Regions from separate parts of the Homo sapiens genome. Here regions 2 and 3 are each linked to region 1. The links are contacts of gene promoters, found by promoter capture Hi-C in human tissues and cell types (Jung and others, 2019). All regions are on one chromosome and are shown on one strand. Each heading gives the region's core, a stretch centred on a gene start or on the middle of the fragment in contact. The rest is flanking DNA. Distances are from core to core; before and after follow the strand shown.

Region 1 (2,515 bases), core at 11-2,510:
ATGTGCTTACCATAATTGCTGACATTCACTGTGTGTGTTCTATGGGCTATTTCTAAGTTCTTTACATGAAATTACATCAATTCGTCTTGACAAGCACTATGATTGTCCCCATGAGATAAAGGAGGAAACTTGGCATAGAGAGGTAAAGTCATTTGCTCGAGGTCGCATAGCTAGTGAGTCATGGAAGCTGGACCTGGGTTCAGGCTCAGCGGCTCAAGAGTGCACGTCTTGAACCTCAACACCAACACCCCTGGCAGTGGCTACAGAAGAGAGTCTGAGGATGAGAGGGGCAGACACAGGACTTTGGGGGCAGGGTTGGTTTTGGGAGCAGGAGTGTTGCAGGGCATAGAGAGTGTGGTGGTGTTCTGAGGTGGCTGAGAACAAGATCAAAGCCAGGAGCAGAAGATGGTAACCAAGGTCCCTCTGCCGTGAGTTGCAGAACCCGGCCTGGCAGGGCAAGGCAGGGGATGTAGATCAGCCTTCCAGCCTCCACAGGAAAATGGGGAGATAACCCAGCATTTCCAGTGCCCGGGGAGGCAGGAGGGTGGGAGACAGTGAATGGCAGCCCTCCTGGCAGTCAGGTTTTGTGAAAGTCGCAGAGAAAGTACAAGGGGCAGGGAGGGATGGAGGACTTAGGAAAGGGAAGGTCAGACACAAATGTGCACAGGGAGGATTGCAAAGCACGACAGCCCAGTGGGGCTGAGAAGGAGCCTTCAGGACACAGCGGACCAAGAGATATCATTTTGGTCCCCTGATGGGTGAGACTCCAGCAAATAACTTTTTCCTTTCTTTGTGGCAAAGGCCAAGAGAGGTGGCTGCTCCTGCCTTAGCTGAGGAATTGAGTATCTGATCTCCGTCTCAGGCCAACCTAAGACCCCCCCTGCCCCAGCCCCACCTCCCACCCCCTGCCTAATCCTTCAGATGAGAAAGTTCTGTTTCCTCCTTCCTTTGCGCAGGACCAACCCTGGCCAAAGAATCTTCCCCCTCCTCCTTCTTTCCCTCCCACCTCTCTTCCCTCCTTCCCTCCCCCTTCCCAGCCTGGCCATGAATAAAGCTCATAACGCTACCTGCCGAGCAAGCCGAGTGGAGGGAGGCAAAGGCCAGGCTGAGGATCAGGGTGGCCCGGGTGGCAGCGGGGAGGCGCTGCATGCTGGAGGCTGTGCTGAGTGCCCGGTGCAGGTGAGCCGGTCCTGCGGAGTTGTGCCGAGTGCCTGCTGCAGGTGAGTCGACTCCCACCTGCAGGAGCTGGAAAGCAACTCTGCCAGAGGTGAACTTATGCTGGGTGTTTGGGGGAAACACCATGGGGTGGAGCAAAGGAAACTTGGCCTGTCACACCTTCTCTCACCTCTCTAGAAGGGAAGCCAAACCGTTGGCTGAGGAAGGAAGGGAGGGGCAAGCTGTGCCCTTCTCCCCTGAGCGCAAATATTGTCCTTATTGAGAAACAAGGGGAGGACAAGAGAGATCTGTGTCATGCTGGTTCCTGGGACATGAGTTTGCTGCCTCTCCCATCTGCAGGTGTAGCATGGATGCTCAATTCCATTTGGGCCAATATTCACTGAGCACCCACTATGCTGAAGTTGGGAGATACCTGCTGTCGAAGTGCGTTAATTACAAACACGCATCATTCAACCCCAGAACCGTGTTTGAGGAATGGCTTGGGAGGATAAAGCACTGTGGGTTTCAACAGTGGAGGCCACATCTGCTGATGGGATGCTTCAAGAAGAAAATGGCATTTGAGGTTGGGCATGGGGGCTCACCCTGTAGTCCCAGCACTCTGGGAGGCTGAGGCAGGTGGATCACTTGAAGTCAGGAGTTCAAGACCAGCCTGGCCAAAATGGTGAAACCCCATCTCTAATAAAAATACAAAAATTAGCCAGGTGTGGTGGTGCATGCCTGTAGTCCCAGCCACTTGGGAAGCTGAGGCAGGAAAATCGCTTGAACCCGGAAGACAGAGGTTGCAGTAAGCTGAGATGCTCCTGACCCTGCATTCCAGCTTGGCCGACAGAGGGAGACTCCATCTCCAAAAAAAAAAAAAAAAAAAAAAAGAAAATGGCATTTGGCCTGGGCCTTGAAGGATGGCTAGAATTTTGACAGGGGGAGAGGGGAAGATGGCATTATAGGTAGAGGGACAGATGAGCAAAGGTCCAGAGGTAAGGAAGTGTCAGAGGGTGGCTGTACCAGCAGCACCCAGAAGCGCAGGTGAGCCAAGGCATGTGAGGTGGGGAGGCAAGAGGAGAGCTGTGGGCTAAGCTTCTGCGTGCCTGGTAGAGGAATTTGAAACAAAGTCAGGAAGCAAAGGGGAAGGTTCTGTAGAGATTTTGAGCTGAGGAGTAACTTGACTAGAGCTCTGCATTCCGTCTAAAACATTTATTGAAGACCCACATGTATATAAAAGGTCTCATCCTAGGCACTGGAGACTGAGATGACTGAGACACGCCTCTTCCCCTTGAGAGCACAGTGCAGCAGGGAACCAAACCCGGAAGAAAGAAATTTGATGCAACCTGGCAAGACTCAA
Region 2 (2,515 bases), core at 11-2,510, 96 kb before region 1:
CCACTTTTGAAGAGAACTGCCTTTGTACAAAGTTGTGCAGAACCAGTTTTGGTGTGGAAATATCCTGCAGTGATAAGTTACGGGTGAGCTAGTAGAATAAACTGGAAATCAGGAGACCTGGAATTAACTGAGCTTTGCCATTAATTCAGCCATGTACCTTTGGATATATCCATATGTCGTTGTGATCCCTGATGTATTCTAGATGTAACATTGTATGTTGTGTTTCTCTGCTGGTCACATTTCCTGTCATCAGGAGATTAGAACCTGGAACCAGCTATCTTGAGCTGGAATGTCAGGGACTTCTGAGTTTCTCATAGAAGACACGTGCAATCTAGTGCATGAGTGAAGAAGGAATTATTGAAAGACCTTTCTTCCTTGTCTGCAGCTGTCGACAGGGTGAAGAGGCCGTCTCCGGAATCCCAGAGCAACAACTTGTGGGTCATTGTTGGCGTGGTCATCCCAGTGCTGGTGGTGATGGTGATTGTTGTCATCCTCTACTGGAAACTATGCCGCACAGACAAGCTAGACTTTCAGCCTGACACTGTGGCCAACATTCAGCAGCGTCAGAAGGTAACGGGCAGCCTCTTCCCCCAGTGTTCCTATAAGCAGTTTTGTGGGGCAGGGATAGGATGAGTTTGGGCTCTTGATACTGAAAGATGAGGAAGAGGGAGGGCTATTATGGAAATCTTCTGGCTTTAATAGTGGTATCACTTTGCCTTTGTTTCTGCTTCCTGAAACCCTCCTTCTGTGGTAGTAAATACAGTCCAAGAATGTGAAACTGTATAAAAGCCTAGCCATGACATGCCCTCCGGGTTCTACTATGATTTTATTTTGTATTTTTTGAGACAGAGTCTGGCTCTGTCACCCAGGCTGGAGTGCAGTGGCGTGAGCTTGGCTCACTGCAGCCTCCGCCTCCTGGGTTCAAGCGATTCTCCTGCCTCGGTCTCCGAATAGCTGAGATTACAGGCGTGTGCCACCACACCTGGCCAGTGTTTGTATTTTTAGTAGAGACAGGGTTTTGCCATGTTGGCGAGGCTGGTCTCGAACTCCTGGCCTCAAAAGATCTGCCTGCCTTGGCCTCCCGAAGTGCTGGGATTACAGGCATGAGCCACCGCACCAGGCCGAATTCTGATTTATTTTATCCCTGGATATTTTCAGAGGATAGGAGCCAAGGCAGACTTTCTCAGATCTGTTTATCTATTTTGTGTACAACTCCATTGGTCAGTTGCTTTATTTTCTGTTCACCCTATTTGGAAGCCCACTTACCCACCTTGATCATTAAAAACGAACAATACATACCTTGAACATTTTAACTTAAAATATATGAATGGACATTTATTTGCCAATCCTTCAACATATCCCAAGTCTTGTTTTGTTTTGAGTGTTGGTCTACTGAGAGGAATTGTGTTTGGTCTTTCTTACAATAAACAACACCCATGACGTGTCAGTTTCAGGTTCCAGTTTGGGTTTCTTTAGAGAAGAGCAAAGCTACCTGAATGCAAAGTTCTCTCGATTTTTAATACCTCCCCCCACTCCCTATCTTAGAGAAGAGCAAAGCTACCTGAATGCAAAGTTCTCTCGATTTTTTTAATACCTCCCCCCACTCCCTATCTCCTAATTTTGCAGACTTTTGAGTTAATTCACTCACACCTAATTTGACAGCAGATTTTTTAAGTAACCCCTCTTTCCTATGTCTTTCCAAAGCATTCAACTTAAGTGTTTATAGAAATAGCAATTTTCTTTTCCAACGTATGTTTCAACAGTTTCCATAGTATTCGAGGGTCACATCAGGTTTCAGAGCAAAGACATTGACTTTTGGTCAACATTGAGCTCACCTGGTGTGAGCAAAAACATGCCAGGCCTAGAGGAGCACTCACTAGTACAGCATAAGTATCAGTCAGCGTGTTTACCAAGGGAGTGGAACGTGGTAGTCAGTCCACTGTTACTAACAGTCTGCTGGATTAACATGCACTTTCCGTGGGTCTCCCAGATTTGGAGGACTCATCCTGCTTTAAAAGCTTGATAAAAACAAGCAAAAGTCAAAAAACAAAGAATAAAAGATTGCCCTATTTATTTTTAAACTTTATTTTGGTTGTCTTGGGTATGAAAAATTCTGCATATTACAAACCTAGACCTGTCGAATGGAAAAAAAATATGCATTACTTTAAAATTTATTTTACTTTTGTAAAAGCAAAGAAAGAGTATTTGTCTTTTCATATGAATTAACAAAAAAATGCAAAGTATTTATTAAATTGCAAGCTTATGGCTATCAAGTACATGAAAAGCATTTTATACATTAATGTTATGTTTGTTGCCTATCTTTGTTTATTATTTACACAGTCTGCTAAGGTTCTTTTGTTGTTCTTGTTATACTGGTGAATGGCATGGGGAAACCTGGAAAAAAAGTGCTGGGTATACTAAATGATTCATAGTGTGAATTTCACTGTAATAAGATCAACAATAGGTTTGGAAATGTTTTTGTTCTGTTGAAGAGTGTTGTTACAGAGGGAGTTAA
Region 3 (2,515 bases), core at 11-2,510, 70 kb after region 1:
TTTAAGAGATAGGAGCAAGAGAGCTCAGATAATTTTCTAGGACTCAAAATATAAAATTACCGGTTGAATACTGTTTGTGACTTAAAGTGACCCAAGGACTTTTGAGTACCACCGAGTGACTGGTAAAGTCATGAGGCCTGCCATAGTTTTCATGCAGGCCCAGGTGAAAACGACCCCCATGGGACAGAGTTCAAGACAAGGGGTGCCTTTATAATGTTTCATGCGTACTTCTTGTTTAAAAGATTGGTTACGTATGGTACAAGGGACTACTCAGAATAAGGAATACAGAGAGTTTCCAGTGTCTACCCCGTGTCGAACATTTGGAAACACTGGACAGATATTTCTCTATCTGCAAGGGGAATATTCCAGGCGTGAAGGTGAATGGATTCATTGAAATGCTTTAGATCTCTCAAAATAAAGTGCTAGTGAAGTGGCCCATAGTGGTCATTTTCATCACGTAAAGTGTGCTGTTCTGCCATGTGAAAATGATGAGATCTCGCCATTTTGGTCTTGCAGCAAGAAGTCCAAAGTTTCTTTGTGGTTATGGCTTTGATTTCTGTGCCGTGGATGCTTCTGATTAAGCCGTTTATTCTTAGAGCCAGTCATCGGAAATCCCAGGTAAGGGCTGTTTGTTTCAGTTCACCCTACTTTGCATAAGAATGTGGGTTTCTGGAAAGATGAATCTTGGGTTTAGAGAGAATCGTCCTGGGCTGCCAGGGCCAGAAGAATGGTGTTGAGGAACTGACCCGCCCTGAGTATGTTTCGTTCTGTGGAGCTAGACTTTTCCACTGGGCCGTCTTATTTCCAACGAGATGCTCTATTAAGGGCAAACACGTTTAAGCCTTATGTCTCGGCTGGTCGCAGTAGCCCACGCCTGTAATCCTAGCACTTTGGGAGGCCGAGGCGGGTGGATCACCTGAGGTCGGGAGTTTGAGACCAGCCTGGCTAACGTGGCGAAACCCCATCTCTACTAAAAACACCAAAATTAGCCAGGCATGGTGATGGGTACCTGTAATCCCAACTACTTGGGAGGCTGAGGCAGGAGAATCACTTGAGCCCAGGGTGGTGGGGGAGATTGCGGTGAGCCGAGATCACACTTCACTCTAGCCTGGGCGAAAGGGCGAAAAACCGTCTCAAAAAATAAAATAAAATAAAATAAACCTTATGTCTGACAGACTTTGTTCAGGGTGTATGTGTGCTGAGTCTCGTGGTAGTTAATGATTTATAAGGGTCTGAATGTGGTTGTTTTATTAGTTATAAATAATATTTTATTATGATTTTACTTTTAAAACAAATATTAAAAGCTTTTTTCATTAATATTCTAAAGTTGTGAGACTTTACTGTATTATGTTACAGATTGTGTCAGGGAATTAGAAGAGTAAACAAATTCAATTAGGTCAGTTTTTGTTTGTTTGTGATTTTTCCCCTGTTGCCAAATACCAGGTTCAGCCCACTTTCTCTTTTTGTCTAAACTGCCCCTGAGCCTTAGATGTACTAGGGGGGTGAAGCAGAGTTTAATATCAGCCTGAACCAAATAGGATTTAGTAAGATTAACCTTCCAGAGGACATCAGCGTCTAGCTCTGACACACAGACGGTTTGAGATGGTCGTTCTCTGCTTTCCTCTATTAGTGCAAAAGATTAAGCGGAATGTGCTGAGACCGTGTATGTTTTAAATGGTTGTAGATATGTTCAGATTAAATTCTATTTTTCTGAGATCTTTGTTGGATATTGACCTGGACAGGCAGCAGAGTCAGGGACCTAGACATGACGAGACTTGAGTTCAGGAAGTTTGTCCCTATGTGACGCTCTGTTTCTCTGTCACCTGCCTCTCCTCCCACTGTCTCCTTATGCCAGTCCGAACTCGTTCCAAAGCTTAGCTGAAACGTAATCTATATGAGGTATTCATAAAGAGGAAGACAAAGCAAGGAAGACTTGGTTATTGTTTGGTTAACTGGTGGGAGAGCAAGGTGGTTGAGGGTTGTTGAGGTGGGTGCTTGTCCAGACAGGTGACCAAGTATTTCAAAGAGGGTGGCAAATACCTGTTTGGAGAAGTAGATGCAAGTTTTTTTTGTTTTGTTTTGTTTTCTAGAGACAAGGTCTCTCTCTGTCTCTGAGGCCAGAGTGCAGTGGCTATTCACCAGCACAATCATAGCTCACTGCAGCCTCCGACTCCCGGGCTCAAGCCATCCTCTTGCCTCAGCCTCCCAAGTAACAGGCATGCCCCCCTGCCTGGCTCAGCATTTTTTTTTTTTTTTTTTTTTTTTTGAGATGAGCTCTCACTATGCTGCCCAGGCTGCTCTCAAACTCATGGCCTCAAGTGATTGTAATTTTTTTTTTCTAGGAACTAAATCTGTCCATAAGCCAAGAGCCAGGTTACTGCAGGCTCTCCTGAGTTCCAGGACTGTAAAATAATAGCTTGTCTTGCTCTTTGTACCACACAAGCTCTTTAAATAGTTGCTGATCTCAAAGTGGTAGATTTCTCCTTTGCGCCACCAGATGACTTAAATAGAGGGA

What was found. The method cuts DNA at HindIII sites, captures the fragments that hold promoters and counts their contacts. A contact is called where the count stands out against the background at its distance.
Region 2: a fragment that was not itself captured here is called in contact with the fragment with the promoter of TMEM213 in region 1 in 5 of the 25 tissues and cell types used here (H1 embryonic stem cells, aorta, mesenchymal stem cells and 2 more).
Region 3: a contact is called between a fragment that was not itself captured here and the fragment with the promoter of TMEM213 in region 1, in 2 of the 25 tissues and cell types used here (H1 embryonic stem cells and liver).

The regions. Positions count from the first base shown.
Region 1 is chr7:138,796,739-138,799,253 of GRCh38, reverse strand. It overlaps TMEM213 (transmembrane protein 213), which reads right to left and starts at 1,260. Exons shown (of 3, transcript NM_001085429.2): 1 at 1,068-1,260. The coding sequence starts at 1,149. It overlaps ATP6V0A4 (ATPase H+ transporting V0 subunit a4), which reads left to right and starts at 1,058. Exons shown (of 22, transcript NM_020632.3): 1 at 1,058-1,220. RefSeq lists a silencer at 996-1,290. The HindIII fragment of the contact is 6,104 bases long and covers 1-2,515 here.
Region 2 is chr7:138,892,397-138,894,911 of GRCh38, reverse strand. KIAA1549 reads left to right here. Exons shown (of 20, transcript NM_001164665.2): 10 at 386-570. Among named protein-coding and RNA genes, the nearest start is that of KIAA1549, 88 kb to the left of the region's middle. The HindIII fragment of the contact is 4,051 bases long and covers 1-2,515 here.
Region 3 is chr7:138,726,864-138,729,378 of GRCh38, reverse strand. ATP6V0A4 (ATPase H+ transporting V0 subunit a4) reads left to right here. Exons shown (of 22, transcript NM_020632.3): 18 at 517-618. Among named protein-coding and RNA genes, the nearest start is that of SVOPL, 27 kb to the right of the region's middle. The HindIII fragment of the contact is 5,302 bases long and covers 1-2,515 here.